Linked DNA regions of Homo sapiens: region 2 is linked to region 1. The links are contacts of gene promoters, found by promoter capture Hi-C in blood cells and fetal thymus (Javierre and others, 2016). All regions are on one chromosome and are shown on one strand. Each heading gives the region's core, a stretch centred on a gene start or on the middle of the fragment in contact. The rest is flanking DNA. Distances are from core to core; before and after follow the strand shown.

Region 1 (6,999 bases), core at 1,971-4,470:
AATAAGGTCGGTCTAAGGACTGACTGATGAAAGAGAAGCTGGATTTACTTGTCACAGCGAATTTTTAAAAGTTCTTTCACCCCGAGGTTTACTGCTGAATATAAATAAAAGACCTCTCCTTGGGCAATCCCATCCCAATTCCTACAAATATGCCTTAGTTAATTAAATTAACTTTGAAATGACATTCCGTGTCTTGCTCCAAATTGCCTTTGTTTTCTCCAAGATCTGCTCATTGACAAGCTGTTTCACAAGGTTCCTGTTTAAAATGGTTATGTTTCGTCCACAGACTGCAGACGAATTGGAGACAGGTTTTATCTATAGCCGGCATGGAGTAGCCCTCGCGTTGTACTCATTTAACTGTGGACCAATGGTTCACAAACATACAATTAAAAAATATATATCTAGGGTGTTTACACAGTATCCCGATAAATACAATATGGTAACTTAAATCTCCTTTGCTGAAATTCACACAACTGAAGGCCAATTCCTGAGTTGGCAATGGGGTGTGGATTTTAAAAATTAGTCTTTTTTAAAAATCAGGCCTTCGCTTTCGCAATTCAAGTGGCTCTCGGCTTAAACACATTAAGTCCCAAGCTGTGACTCCCTTCCAGTGAACAGCCGCGTAGGCGCGGGCACGCACACGTGGACACACACACTCACACGCGCCCTCCCACACCCCTTTCCGTGTGAATCGCCTGCGGGATTTAGGGCTTCTCCACCAGCGATTACTGTCAGGTGCAGAAAGCAAGCCTCTTTGTTCTATGGGCATTTTCCTCCCCCTGGATTTGACTGTTATTTACTGGCCACGTGAGCGCCAGGCGCGGGTCCGGCGGGGAAGGCGACCCCAGAACAGGGTAGACAAAAGCTGGCCCAGAGCGCGACCCGTGCGCCCCAGGGACGTCTCCCCAGCTCCTGCGACACGCGTGAAATTGGCCCGGACCTGCCTCCTGAGAGGCTTTTCCCAGAAATGTCTTGTTAAAGCCTTTGTAAAGGAATCAGTGTTTACTTGCGCCGGGAGAGCTCCGGCCCTGGGTCCTGGCAGGCGGCGGATTTCTGAGCTGCTGGAGAGCAACCCGGGAAAGCAAAATCAGCCTTGGACTGTCGGGGCCCCTGGGGCTCCTTGCTCCTTATCGAAAGCGAGTTATTAGATAGACCCCCACAGTCCCATTCAGCAGAATGGGAAACTGGACTCAGACACCTTTTGCCCTCCCCACAGGGAGGCCACGCCGTGCGGCTTTGACCACTGATCTCCCACCCGGAGTGCCCGACGCCCAGGGTCCTGCCACCGGGCAGCCTCGGTCAGTCCACAGTTGTGGCTCCTTCCAGGGCCTGGACTAGGGTGAGCACAAGCCTTGAGCGCAACATTTAAGAAGGGCGCCGAAAAGTCAGTAATCAAAAGAAATATCTTGATGCAATGCCTCTTTAAAAGAAAAAAAAATGCAAAAAATCCATGATGAATAAAATACTAAATTTTAAAAAGAGAAAGGATCCGTGCAGTGCCATCGTAAGCCATTTTGGAGCCCGGAGCAAAAGGAAATATCACCTTGCCCAAGCGGTGCCCCTACAGCTCATCCGAGTAGGGCCCGGGGGTCGAGGCATTCGGGGCCCAGTGGGGGACGAGGCCAGTCGAAGGTCTCGGAAGTGGAGGCTCCGCCGAGCTCCGGTCGGGGAGTGCAGGGATGGCCCCCGGGACCGGAGGTGAGAGCTCGGGAAAGCCGCTCCGCCCGGAACAAAGGCATGGGGAGAGGGTGAGCTTGGGCGGGAGAGACCCGGCGGGTACCGGTGCCCTCGCTGCCTGGGTCGGGCTTCCACGCGCGCCCCGGAATGGAATACGCTACTCTGCAGCCTCCGAAACTGCGAGCGAGTCCTGTAACTCCCTTGCTCTGTGATTAATTCTCACTAACAAGACTTGGCAAGATGTCGGGCGAATGATTTTTGGCTTCTGCACGGTCCCCACCGCGTGCGTGCACAAACCCCCAGCCAAAAGCCGCCTCTGGGAAATTAAATGCAAAAGAGAAATGGGGATGGGGAGGGCTGCTACGTGACCAGGAAAAAGGGATGCCCAGAAACATGAATCGGACCCAGAGCTGCTGAAGTCCTTTCAAAAGGTCATTCTTTGCGGGTACATTTTCCAGGGTCCAGCTCCGCAACAAATGTGGACCCTGTCATTTCCTGAAAGGATAATTCACAACTATGCAAGATAGGGTGAAGACGTTTCCCAAACCCGAAAACCTTGTTTTTCCCCCGACCAGGGTTAAATAAACATCTTTTAGGAAGCGTGGACAGGAGCGCAGCCTGCTCTCCTCCCTCGGAACACCATTCCGGCAATTAATGCCTCCCTTTGGGTAGTAAAGCAACAAACCCCACACCTCACTCCGATCCTGGGCTTCGGGCGGGAGGACTTTCTCTTTCATCTTCCAAGCAGGGGGTTGCCCACGTTCTTGGGGAAGCTATAAAACTGATTTAATGGCTTTAGATGAAAATCGATCACGCTAATGCATACGCTAACGTCTCAGGAATCGCATATTCAGAAAGGACTGGCCGGGCCGAAAGCGCACGGGGAGTCTGGGGCTAGGAGGTGTCAGGCCCCGCTGGGTGGGCAGCAGCGCTCCGGTCCCCTCTCCACTTGGGTAACCGGGAAAAACCTACGGGGCTGTCACGCGGGGAAGCGCGAAGGTGCCAAGGGATGAAAGCTCAAACCCGAGCCCTGGCCTCCTCAGCCGGCTATTTCCTTTGGCGCCGCCCGCCTAGCGGCGGGGTGCAGCGGCGGCACAGGTGCCGGTGTCGGGCTGGAGGCGCGGCGCAGGCTGGGCCCGCGGGTAGACGGCGAAAGGCGCCGCGCGCTCCATTCACAAAGTCCGGGCGCTGCCCGCCGCTGGCGGCGGGTCGGAGGCCGCCTCCCTCTTCCTCTCGGCCTCGGTTTTATGAATGGGCCTGATGGCGAGCACCCGGCGCCCTGTTTACTCCGCTCTTTGTGACGTCGAGTTCCCGTGACCGGGAGCCAGCGGCCGCGCTCCATTCAAGCTCCGGGGAGGGGGTGGGAGGAGGGGCCCGGAGGGGGCGGGGAGTCAGCGCGGGGGGCGGGGGACAGCGCGGGGGGCGGGGGACGGCGCGGGGCCCGGAATGGAACGGGGCGGGGCCTGGCGGGGTAGTACCTAGCGCCCCCTCCCCCGGGAGCGCGGAGGAGCATTAATAAACCTCTAAGCCGAGGAGAAAACTCTGGCTGGGGCAGTGCGCTGAGCGCCGGAGGAGCGTAGGCAGGGCAGCGCTGGCGCCAGTGGCGACAGGAGCCGCGCGACCGGCAAAAATACACGGGAGGCCGTCGCCGAAAAGAGTCCGCGGTCCTCTCTCGTAAACACACTCTCCTCCACCGGCGCCTCCCCCTCCGCTCTGCGCGCCGCCCGGCTGGGCGCCCGAGGCCGCTCCGACTGCTATGTGACCGCGAGGCTGCGGGAGGAAGGGGACAGGGAAGAAGAGGCTCTCCCGCGGGAGCCCTTGAGGACCAAGTTTGCGGCCACTTCTGCAGGCGTCCCTTCTTAGCTCTCGCCCGCCCCTTTCTGCAGCCTAGGCGGCCCGGGTTCTCTTCTCTTCCTCGCGCGCCCAGCCGCCTCGGTTCCCGGCGACCATGGTGACGATGGAGGAGCTGCGGGAGATGGACTGCAGTGTGCTCAAAAGGCTGATGAACCGGGACGAGAATGGCGGCGGCGCGGGCGGCAGCGGCAGCCACGGCACCCTGGGGCTGCCGAGCGGCGGCAAGTGCCTGCTGCTGGACTGCAGACCGTTCCTGGCGCACAGCGCGGGCTACATCCTAGGTTCGGTCAACGTGCGCTGTAACACCATCGTGCGGCGGCGGGCTAAGGGCTCCGTGAGCCTGGAGCAGATCCTGCCCGCCGAGGAGGAGGTACGCGCCCGCTTGCGCTCCGGCCTCTACTCGGCGGTCATCGTCTACGACGAGCGCAGCCCGCGCGCCGAGAGCCTCCGCGAGGACAGCACCGTGTCGCTGGTGGTGCAGGCGCTGCGCCGCAACGCCGAGCGCACCGACATCTGCCTGCTCAAAGGTAAACGAGGGCTCCGGGCGCTAGCTGGAGTCGGGGAGATGGAGGGGGTCTTGGCGGCCTGCGCCTTATTGGCACGGGAAGGAGTCCCCGGCGTGATTCGTGGTTGCGGGGATCCCCGCGCGCCCCTTTGTGTGTGTTGGTGTGTAGGGGTTTGCAAGGTTTCTGTGCAAGTGCGAGGTTCAAGTCCTCAGGGAAAGTGCGGACGGGTTTCTCCGGTCACCTGCAATTCCGCACCGTCCTAGCGAGGCCCCGTTTATTGACATTAACGGTCCTAGCCTCGAGGATGAAGCGACTCCTCTGCGCGGTCCATCTTGAGTCCCGGGAACAGTTTCCAAGTACCACGGGGCGCGTGGGGACAAGATAGGCCTGTTGGTTTGGCGTGCTGGGGCCCTACACTGAGCCGGACCGGGAGAATCCCAGAGGTGGAGAAAAGGTGAAGAGGGGTGGGCGCCGAGGTACAATTGGCCTTGCCAGTTTCACTGAAAACAAGACCCTGGCAAATGCAGAAAGGGAGATTGGGTTGCACACACTGTGTAGAGCGATCTGTATCTGCGTTCCCGCTGCCCAACTCCAAGCTCAGCTTGGAAGGTGGCCAATCCCCGTCCCGGGCTAGATCCAGGCTCTGGGAGCGGGAGGCTGAAGGACTGGGTATCTGGGGGACGCCGGGCGGAACCGGTCCTCTAGCGCCTGCAAATCCGGGCAGCGGAGAATGATCACCTTTTGTTCAGCCCGGATTTTCGACTATCTGATGGCGGCGCGTGCCGGATTTTAGCGAGCCCTGGCGAAACTCTCGGCGGCGAGACTGTCTTGTCACATTTGGTAGTCGGAAATCCTGGAAAAATCGCGTGCTGTCCGAGTCCCTGGAGGGACCTGGCGCCCGCCACACCTGCAGGGCAGGGTGGGTCCGCGGCCCTCGGGCTAGGGAGCGGGCAGGGCGCGTGGGGTCCGGGCGCCCCCCGCCGCGCTGCGCCTCCGCCTCCCGCCGCCGCATTCCGCGCATTCTTCCGCGCGGGTAGGGTCTGCGCTTCCGAGCCCGGTAGGCAGTTCAGACCCCCCCACACCCATCAAAGAGCCGCTCCTCCCCCCCGCAGGCGCCTTCGCCGCCTCCCTCCCTTCCTTTCCTTTCCGCTCCTCTTCCGACCTGTCCACCCGGGAGGAAGGGAGCTGGAAAGGGGGCGGAAACCTCTCCCCTCCAAAAAGCACAACAAAACTGTTCAGTGCGGAGGAGCCGGGTTCGCCCCTGCCGGACAGCGGGGGGCTTTGTTCCCCGCAGTTGTTTCCTGCCCATTTGACCTGTCAGCTGCTGGGGAAACGCTGCTGTTGACCTTTGGTTGAACTGCTAAGGCGATTTTGCTGATTTTTCTTTCTTTTTCCGCGAGGGCTGTCTTTTGCTCCTCCAAATGAGCCCAGTCCCCCTCCCTTCTCCCCAAAGCGCTCCAAGAGAAAGTGCCAGGAAGGGGCTTGTCCCGGAAGGCCTGGCGGCTGAGCGGGGCCAGGTCCTGGTTAGGCCACCAGGGTGGGCGTCCGCGCCATTGTTTGAGCTTGTCGGCGCTGGTGGGAGAGATGAGGGCAATTCCTCTGGGACGCAAGTCCCCTCGAATGGCCGGGGCTGGCCGGGATGTTCCCCGCACGGCGCTGCCCTCGAGTCCCCCCGATGGAGAGCGCGGGCGCGCCTTCCTTCGCTGGCGTCCAAACCCGGGACCAGCTAGAACACAGCAGGGCTGGGACTGGGTTCCAGCCCCACGTGGAGTCTGGATTTGTTTTGTTGTGTTTTGCTTTCCTTCCTGGAAGAAATCCCGAGGGGACCGCCCTAGAGCGGCAGCTCCAGGACCTCGGCCCTTGGGCTTCCGGGGGTGCAGCCACTTAGGCCCCGCTCCCGGGGAGAGAGGGATTATTTTTTAAGATTTATCCCCAGGGCGCGCGGCATTTCCCTGTCCCTCGTGAATCCCGTTGAGAGTCCTCCCTCCCCAACCTCCTCCATTTCCCCAGCCAGACCGATTCGAGAGCCCTGGAGATTCTGGGCGAGGCTAGTGACTGGGTAGTACAGGCCTCTAGGTAAAATGACAGCCCTCTGGTGGGTGGCGAGGTGCCTGGCCAACATAAGAGAAGTACTTTAAGGGCTGTTTCCTCCTGGAGCCTGCACTGCCTCTCGTAGTCGGCCCCGACGCGGGCAGGGAGAATCATCTTCTGCATCTCAAAGTGGACATCCTTGCAGATGGAGGTGTGCAGGCCTGGGCCACAGATTTAGCTTCGGTCTCTTCTAGAATAGCCCCTCCTAGCCAGAAGTTCAGCTTCTGCTTCCAAAGGGAGCCTGCCCTTGGAAGCAAGCACCTAAAATTGAGAGGTGGGGGAATCTTCCAGCCTGCTCTGTTGTGGTGAACATCGTTGAGGTTAACTGGGCCCTATTCGGTTTAGCTTAGCTGATTTTGACATATGTGTTCAGCAGAGGCCATCTTTAACCCAGTTCCTCTTCTTCCTCTTTGCCCTCTAATGGAAAGGCATCCCTAGAGAGGTCAGAAGGAAAAAGTCAGTATCTGCTCCCACAGCTCTGCGGGAAGGGGCTGGGGAAGGAAATCAAGGTGTCTCCCAGGTCTCCAGATACACCTCCCTTCCATGCCTGGAAGCCAGTGCAGTGGAGCAAATGTGGTTTCCCGGGAGGGGGCTCTGGGGCAGAGACCTAAAGGGGAATTTTGAGAAGCAAAGGAAGAAAAAGCCCCTTAGATTATCTTTAGTAAATGCCTGAATTGGTGAAGGGTTGGAGAATTTGTTTCCTACTGGAGTAATTCATTTTATTTTCCAGCGAGGGAATGTATGTATGTCTCATTTCAGGTGTGCCTGTGCGTGTCTGTAAAGCAGGACAGGAAGCCAGTGGAAGGCTTGATGGTTGGTGTCTGCCATTCTTGGAGGGGTTAGGAGAAGCAGTAAAAGCAACAAGAGTATT
Region 2 (7,638 bases), core at 3,400-5,899, 260 kb before region 1:
CGGTCTCGCTGACTTCAGGAATGGAGCCACAGACCTTCAGGGTGAGTGTTACAGCTCTTAAAGGTGGTACGGGCCCAAAAAGTGAGCAGCAGCAAGATTTATTGTGAAGAGCAAAAGAACAAAGCTTCCACACAGTGGAAGGGGACCCAAGCGGGTAGCCGCTGCTGGCTGGGTGTGGCCAGCTTTTATTCCGTTATTTGTCTCCGCCCATGTCCTGCTGATTAGTACATTTTACAGAGTGCTGATTGGTCCATTTTACAAACCTCTAGCTAGACACAGAGCGCTGATTGGTGCATTTTTACAGAGCACTGATTGGCGCATTTTACAAACCTCTAGCTAGCCACAAAGTGCTGATTGGTGCGTTTTACAATCCTAACTACAGAGTGCTGATTGGTGCATTTTATAATCCTCTTGTAAGACAGAAAAGTTCTCCAAGTCCCCACTGGACCCTGGAAGTCCAACTGGCTTCACTTCTCAATAGAATAGTGCAAAAAGTTACCTAGCACAGACAGAAGCCAGGCTCAGAAAGAAGTGAGACTTCTGTCTCCATATCACAGATAATATGTGGTAGACAAAAGCTTATGACAACTGGGGCAATGTTAACAAGGACAGCCAGTTAAGCTAATTCCTCTTCCACATGCTGCGTCTCCAGTGGAGTTTGCCAATCCTGGGCAGTTACTGTGGACGTAGATACTTTTCAAATGGAAAGGACAACTCTTAACATGTGAGTAGGAAATGAATAAACAGGGAAACTAATCCATTCCAACAAGGACGATGCAGCTGGCTGTGGCCTTTGGGCCTTTTAAAATCTCTAGATAAATAAAACTAGTTCTAATGTACCAGTTAAGTATTAAAAACAAGCTTTAAAAAAATTCTTATGATTTAGCTAATAGAACAGTGCAATCAAGAACACAGAAGGCTCTGAGCAGCAGTCTCTTCTTTCAAAGATGGCCCCACCATCACCACGACCACCCAATCAGGAAGCAGGGCACATTTCTCTTTGCTCCGCACAGACAGTTCATCTTTTTCTTCTCACGCTACCCACAAATGTTTGCCTGGCTTCAGAATTTTCAAATAATTTTTGATTTTGGTCCACAGGTTCCCTGGTGAAGACTCTAGTCCAATATAAATCACCAGAAGTGCAAGGGAAGTTGGATCTCACTCGTCTGTCCCGTCAGGACTCAGCTTGGGGGTAGTCAAGGCTTCTCCACAGGATGATGTGGGCACTGGGATTCGCTGGGGGCAGTCCGCAGCCTCCGTTCTTCTCTAGCTTGGGAGAGAAGAAAGGCACAGCCATGGCCCTGGCCCTGGCCCTGCATGAGGCAGCCACATGCCTACCCTGGTGGTGACTGTCTACTCTTCTGACAGATTTTCTTTCTCATTCTCTTGATGAGGCAACCCTAAGGTTTTTACTAATAGTGACTCTTACAAATGAGGGGCTTCAAATGTAATCCGGAGGAGAAAAGGTGGTTTAGAGACAGCGTGAGGAGAGCTGTAGGGTACCCCAATGCCAGTCACTGCATTCAGCAAATATCAACATTGATTTAATGCCTGCCCTGTACCTGGTACTATGTCCACAAGTACATGAGTAGGACAAAGTCCCTGTTTTCTAAGAGCTTGAAAGCTACTGGAGAAGACAGGGAGGCAAGCATGTATTTTTAGCATATGATAATGGTTATAATAAAGGATGAACAAAACTTGATAGGGACCCAGAGTAAAGACCTCTTGTCTGTTCTGGATGAAAGGGAGTTTCTGAAGGGGTGACACTTGCCCCCAGAAGGAAAAGATGACCAAGAGATCAACGGGGAGAGGAGATGAGAATGTGGATACAGCAAGGTGTTGGGGGCTTTCCGAGCCCAGGAAACAGCACACAGAAACCAACAGGAAATCAACCTGGCATGCCAACAAGTGTGATCCCTAAATCCTCTCACCTTCAGGTTTTCCTCTAGACAACAGTTCTTCCTCCAAGCTGCCCTCTATGATTATCCCCACCCAACCTCTCAGGGATCCCTTCCTAATCACAGTCCCCCTTTCCTGCCTTTTTGCTGATCTGCATTTTCCACTTAGTGTGAGCTCCATGAAGCGAAATCAATGTTGGTTTTGTTCACAGTTTTAGCTCAAGGCACATTGGATGTAGGAAGTGGTATGTAATAATCTCTCAAGAAATAGTTTCTGTAGGATTAAGTCAAAATTTCTACCAAAATTATATTGCATACATTTTCTGTATATTGCATATTGCGGTGTTTTCTTGTGTACATATGTATATAAGCAGGAAAAAAATCTACAATGTGCTCAAGGAGTTAGTTAATTTTAACTAACATTGTTAGGAGTTAGTAATTGCAAATGAAATTATCCAGCATTTGCAATTCCCGTTATGTGAGATCTAGTTGGAAAAACAGGAGGCCTCGAGACTCAAGGTCTATCTCCGTCACTAAGAAGTTCTGTGACCTCGGATAAGGTACCTCACTTCTCTGGGACTAATTTTCCTTCTCTGCAAAATAAGGGGATTTCAGAATTGTGTTTAACACTTATTCTCATCCTTATCTATGACTCTTATTTCCAGAAGCCTAAAGCAAAACCTGCCTCCAGAATTTAATGCAGCTGAAATTACGTTCAACCACTAACACTCTTGAAATCTTCTCATTGAAACACCTCCTGAAACATAAGCTTTCTTTTTGCCTTTCAAATAAAAGCTTCCTATTGAGCCCGATTCTCTATGAGAACATAGGACTCTGGCTCAAGGAATGACAATGACGTGGCGTGGGTGAGGATGTGGAGAGAACAGAGCTGGTAGAGCTTACTTACTTAATTAGCTGAGAACAGAGGGACGTCTGTGACTGTGTCCTTCTGTTCCCGGGACCTTTAGGAACCACAAAAGTGTGGCACATGCTGAGTTGGAGGATGTAACCTACCAGCAAGCTCTGGACTGAAAGCACATTCTCTTAATTTCACTGTTGTTCAAGGAGTTCAGGTATATTTAAAATAAAACAAACAAAAACAAAACACTTTTATGTAACCACACAGTATCTCCTCCAACTTACTGGGGAAATTGCAGTTGTGTGTTCTAAAACTATAGAAATGACTTCTTTAGCTATAGAGCCTACTGATATTTTAAATTAGAACCAGATTCAACAGATGAAAATTACTAGCTGAATAGAAGGCATTGGCCTTCCAGTGAAACTAAGGTGCCAGCTATATTCACGGTTTTTGAAACTGTGAGATTCAAATGGGTAGTCTCTTGAGTATGGGGATGAAGGTTAGAATCTGTCACCATCACAACTTGAAACTAACAGGCATCCAGGAAAAACTGGGTATTTCCTATCTTCCACTCCCTAAAAAATTACACACCAAAGACAGATGTAAATGTGTTGCTAACGAGGCTAGAGCCTTTTCTAAACATTAGTCAAAGATTTAGAATACCTCTCCAAAAGGAAGACCTTCGTTTAGACAGCAAAATGAAAGATGTTATAATCTTGGAAACTGAAGCATATCTGTTTTGACAAGTAGTATCATTATAGAAGTTTTAATAACTTGGCAGGGTGCAGTGGCTCACGCCTGTAATCCCAGCACTTTGGGAGGCCGAAGCGGGCAGATCACGAGGTCAGGAGATCGAGACCATCCTGGCTAACACGGTGAAACCCCGTCTCTACTAAAAATACAAAAAAAAATCGGGCATGGTGGGGGGCGCCTGCAGTCCCAGCTACTTGGGAGGCTGAGGCAGAATGGCGTGAACCCGGGAGGCGGAGCTTGCAGTGAGCCAAGATTGCGCCACTGCACTCCAGCCTGGGCAACAGAGAGAGATTCTGTCTCAAAACAACAAAAACAAAAACAAAAAACAAAACAACAACAATAACAACAAAAACTGGCCAGGAATACTGGAAATGGAGAGAGAAATTATCAGAATGTGTTGGTGTCTCCAGTGCTGATGAGAGCAGAGCATCTGCCCCTTCTGGACTGCATTCCCTCTAGGGAGAATGGATATATCAAGCAATGATAGCTTGAAGGCCTAATTTCTTTATTAAACTCTATACCCACTAGGCAGCTTTCTCACATTGATTTGGCTTCTTAAGTACATTTCCATATGGAAAGAGAATGTGCAAACCTGCCAACAAGAGCCTTTCAGGACCTCCTTTGGAAATCTAGTTTTCACTAAAAATTGATGATTTGCTATTTTTGTTTCTGTAACTGGTTATAGGGAGAAGGCCTGGAAATTATCGCCAGGCCAATGCAAAATTACAATGGTTATCTGGAATGGTATATTTCCAGAGGTTATATATCTTCTAAGCTATATGTCTATGTGTAAATGTGCATTCTTCTAAAACCATAAGCGATTAACTTCTTTTAATCTATAACTAAGGTCTGAGTCCTGAAGACCTTCCTCTGGAGCCTCAGTAAATTTACTTAATCTAAATGGGTCCAGGCGCTGGGGTGATTACCCTTATCTTGTCTCCTGCTAAACCACGGACCTTTGAGGAGTTTCTTGTTTGTGGAGGCCTGGGGAGTTTCTTCGGACCCCCCATAAAACTTGTTTAATCCTAAATGGATCCTGTTAAGAGTTCCTCCATTATTTTGTCATGCTTTAAGGCACAGGAAAGGCCTAGGCAAAACTCTTGATGGGCTTTTGTTATATCCCAGCCTTTGCATGAGGGCACTGGCTTTCAATATTTAACATAACCACACAGTACTGAAACCGTTGTTAGTGAGACCTGGCCTGCCACACCTGAAGAAACTGACAATAGTTTCTGAACCTTGCAGCAATGCCACTAGGAAGCAGGCATCCTGGGAAGCTGACATTGAAGCTGACATTGACATATTTCCTTACTTCAATTTCGAGCTTTCTGTGCCCATGATATGAACTAGTTTTGGCAGGATGCACATCCCAATGTGTTTCCTCTGAAAGATTTTCTAGAACATTATCCAAAGGAATGATTGGAAATAAACAAATATTTATGGATAGGGAAGACAATACACATGATGCCCTTTTGAGTTATAGATTTGGTAACTTGCAATGAGAGGATCAAGCCAAAACAATTACCATGGAAAGCACTCAGTGGATATTTATTGCTCACGCCTGTAATCCCAGCACTTTGGGAGGCCAAGGCGGGCAGGTCACAAGGTCAGGAGATTGAGACCATCCTGGCTAATATGGTGAAACCCCATCTCTACTAAAAATACAAAAAATTGGCCAGGCCTGGTGGCATGCGCCTGCAGTCCCAGCCACTCCAGAGGCTGAGGAGGAAAATCTCTTGAACCCAGGAGGCTGAGGTTGCAGTGAGCCAAGATCGCGCCACTGCACTCCAGCCTGGGTGACAGAGTGAGACTCCATCTCAAAAAAAAAAAAAAAAAAAGAGATATTTATCTATGCAGTGTCTACCATGTGCGAGGTACTGTGAGGGATGTGAAAGGAAAATAAATCTTGAGGCCCCCAAATCACTAAGCTAAAGGGAAAAGCCAAGCTGGGAACTGCTTAGGGCAAACCTACCTCCGGTTTTATTCAAAGCCACCCCTCTGCTCACTGAGATAGAGGCATATCTGATTGCCTTTCTTGGAAAGGCTAATCAGAAACTCAGAAGAATGCAACTGTTTGCATCTCACCTGTGACCTGGAAGCTCACTCTGGCTTTGAGTCTTCCTGCCTTTGCTTCAAGTTGTCCCGTCTTTCCAGACCAAACTCGTGTACTTCTTACATATATTGATTGATGTCTCATGTCTCCCTAAAATGTGTAAAACTAAGCTCTGCCCTGATCTCCTTGGGCACATGTCCTCAGGACTTCCTGTGACTGTGTCACGGGCACATCCTCAACCTTGGCAAAATAAACTCTCTAAATTAACTGAGACCTTTCTCAAATTTTGAGGATTCACAAGGATATGGAGCTGAAACAAACACAGGTTTCCTTCCAGGAACTTTCAGGCTAGAAAAGGAGAGAAGATAATTTGTGTAATAGAAAGCAGACATTGATAAGCACTATAAAAGATAGGATTGAGACCGAGTGTGGTGGCTCATGCCTATAATCCCAGCACTTTGGGAGGCCAAGGCCAGTGGATCATGAGGTCAGGAGTTTGAGACCAGCCTGGCCAACATGGTGAAACCCCATCTCTACTTAAAATACAAAAATTAGCTAGGCATGGTGGTGGGCACCTGTAAACCCAGCTACTTGGGAGGCTCAGGCAGGAGAATCACCTGAACCCGGGAGGCGGAGTTTGCAGTGAGCAGAGATCACACCACTGCCCTCTAGCCTGGGCAACCAAGCAAGACTCTATCTCAAAAAAAAAAAAAAAAAAAGATATAATTGAAATGCTAACAGTTCAGAAAAGAAAATATGATTTATTTTAACAAACATTATGTATCCAGTATGGTTCTAAGCACTTACTATATATTAGCTCACTTAATCCTCCTAACAACCTATGAGATAAGTACTATTATTGTCCTCTTTTTACAGATGGGGAAACTATGGCACAGATACAGTAAGAAACATAGCCAAAGTCCCATGGCTAGGAGGTGGCAGAGCTGGGATGTGAATCGCATTGGTCTGGTTTCAGAATCCTTGCTCTCTGCTACTACCCACTGTCTTGCAACTGGCAGCTGGAGGGACCCAGGGAAGCTTTCAGGAAGGTAGGAATATTTACACAGAACCTCGAAGAGGGTGGGTGGCATTTGGATATGCAGACATGGAAGGAAGTACATTCCGGGCAAAGTAAACAGTGTGAAGGAAGGCAGGGAGTCTAGCATGCTTGGAATTATTGTTTCCTAGTAAGCCAACAATAGTCCTAAAGCCTTAGCACAAGTTCAAGTTCAGAAAGAATAACTTGTCAAAATAAAGAATCTGAATAAAAGGTCAAGCATGAGGGCCAAACAATGGATGAGAATCTAGCCTTTTGAACTTCAATTTCCACAATTTCCATTAATTCTCTCTATCCCAATCTTTAGCTGAGTAATTGACTCAAAAAGAAGGCATGACTTTGATAGGAGCAAACTATATTAGAGCCATTCAAATCATATCCTGACATGGCATGGAGCCAAAGGCAGGGCTAACCATTGCCCCAGAACCTTAGAGTTTGGTATTTCCTGATCTATGGGGAGGGGTAAACAGACCACATTTATTTTTATATATCCTACAGCAGAGGAGAAGGCAATACTAGGCAACCAGGGGTCGTGTTCTCTTTCTTAAGAAAAAGTCAACCCTATTTCAAAAGTAAGGTCTCTTCCAGTGTTACAAGGTCATCTCATGAGGCTTTAAAATCAACTGAATCACAATGGTTGCACTCTTCGTGAGCAACGAGATTACTTACTGAGTATTAGCATTGAGTACTGAGATTGAAGAAACAGTTAAAGGAAAATGCATATTATTACCTTTAACTGAATGCTGGGTTGCTTCATTTCTATCTCCTGAATTGGGATCACAATTAAAAACCAGGAAGACTGAATAACAGGTACGTGATCCCTCAAAAGTGGACTCGGGACAAATGAGTAAGAATGCTAAGCCTCTGGACCCAGACTGTTCCCTTCCAGGGCAATGTGTGTATGGTTTTAGCTGCTTCTTCTTTCTTTTTTTATTTTTTATTTTTCTTGAGATGGAGTCTCTCTCTGTCACCCAGACTGGAGTGCAGTGGCACGATCTCGGCTCACCACAACCTCCGC

Evidence for each region. Contacts are between HindIII fragments. The CHiCAGO score rates a contact against its expected background, and 5 or more counts as called.
Region 2: a fragment that was not itself captured here is called in contact with the fragment with the promoter of DUSP4 in region 1 in 1 of 17 cell types (endothelial precursors); the score reaches 5.2 in endothelial precursors.

What each region holds. Positions count from the first base shown.
Region 1 is chr8:29,346,905-29,353,903 of GRCh38, reverse strand. It overlaps DUSP4 (dual specificity phosphatase 4), which reads left to right and starts at 3,220. Exons shown (of 4, transcript NM_001394.7): 1 at 3,220-4,058. The coding sequence starts at 3,626. It overlaps LOC124901924 (a long non-coding RNA gene), which reads right to left and starts at 2,930. Exons shown (of 2, transcript XR_007060876.1): 1 at 2,370-2,930. RefSeq lists enhancers at 2,303-2,412, 2,453-2,522, 3,221-3,720, 4,043-4,192, 3,721-4,222 and silencers at 2,713-2,852, 3,043-3,362, 4,933-5,102. The HindIII fragment of the contact is 21,736 bases long and covers 1-6,999 here.
Region 2 is chr8:29,606,537-29,614,174 of GRCh38, reverse strand. No RefSeq gene overlaps it. Among named protein-coding and RNA genes, the nearest start is that of LINC02948, 48 kb to the right of the region's middle. The HindIII fragment of the contact is 3,908 bases long and covers 2,696-6,603 here.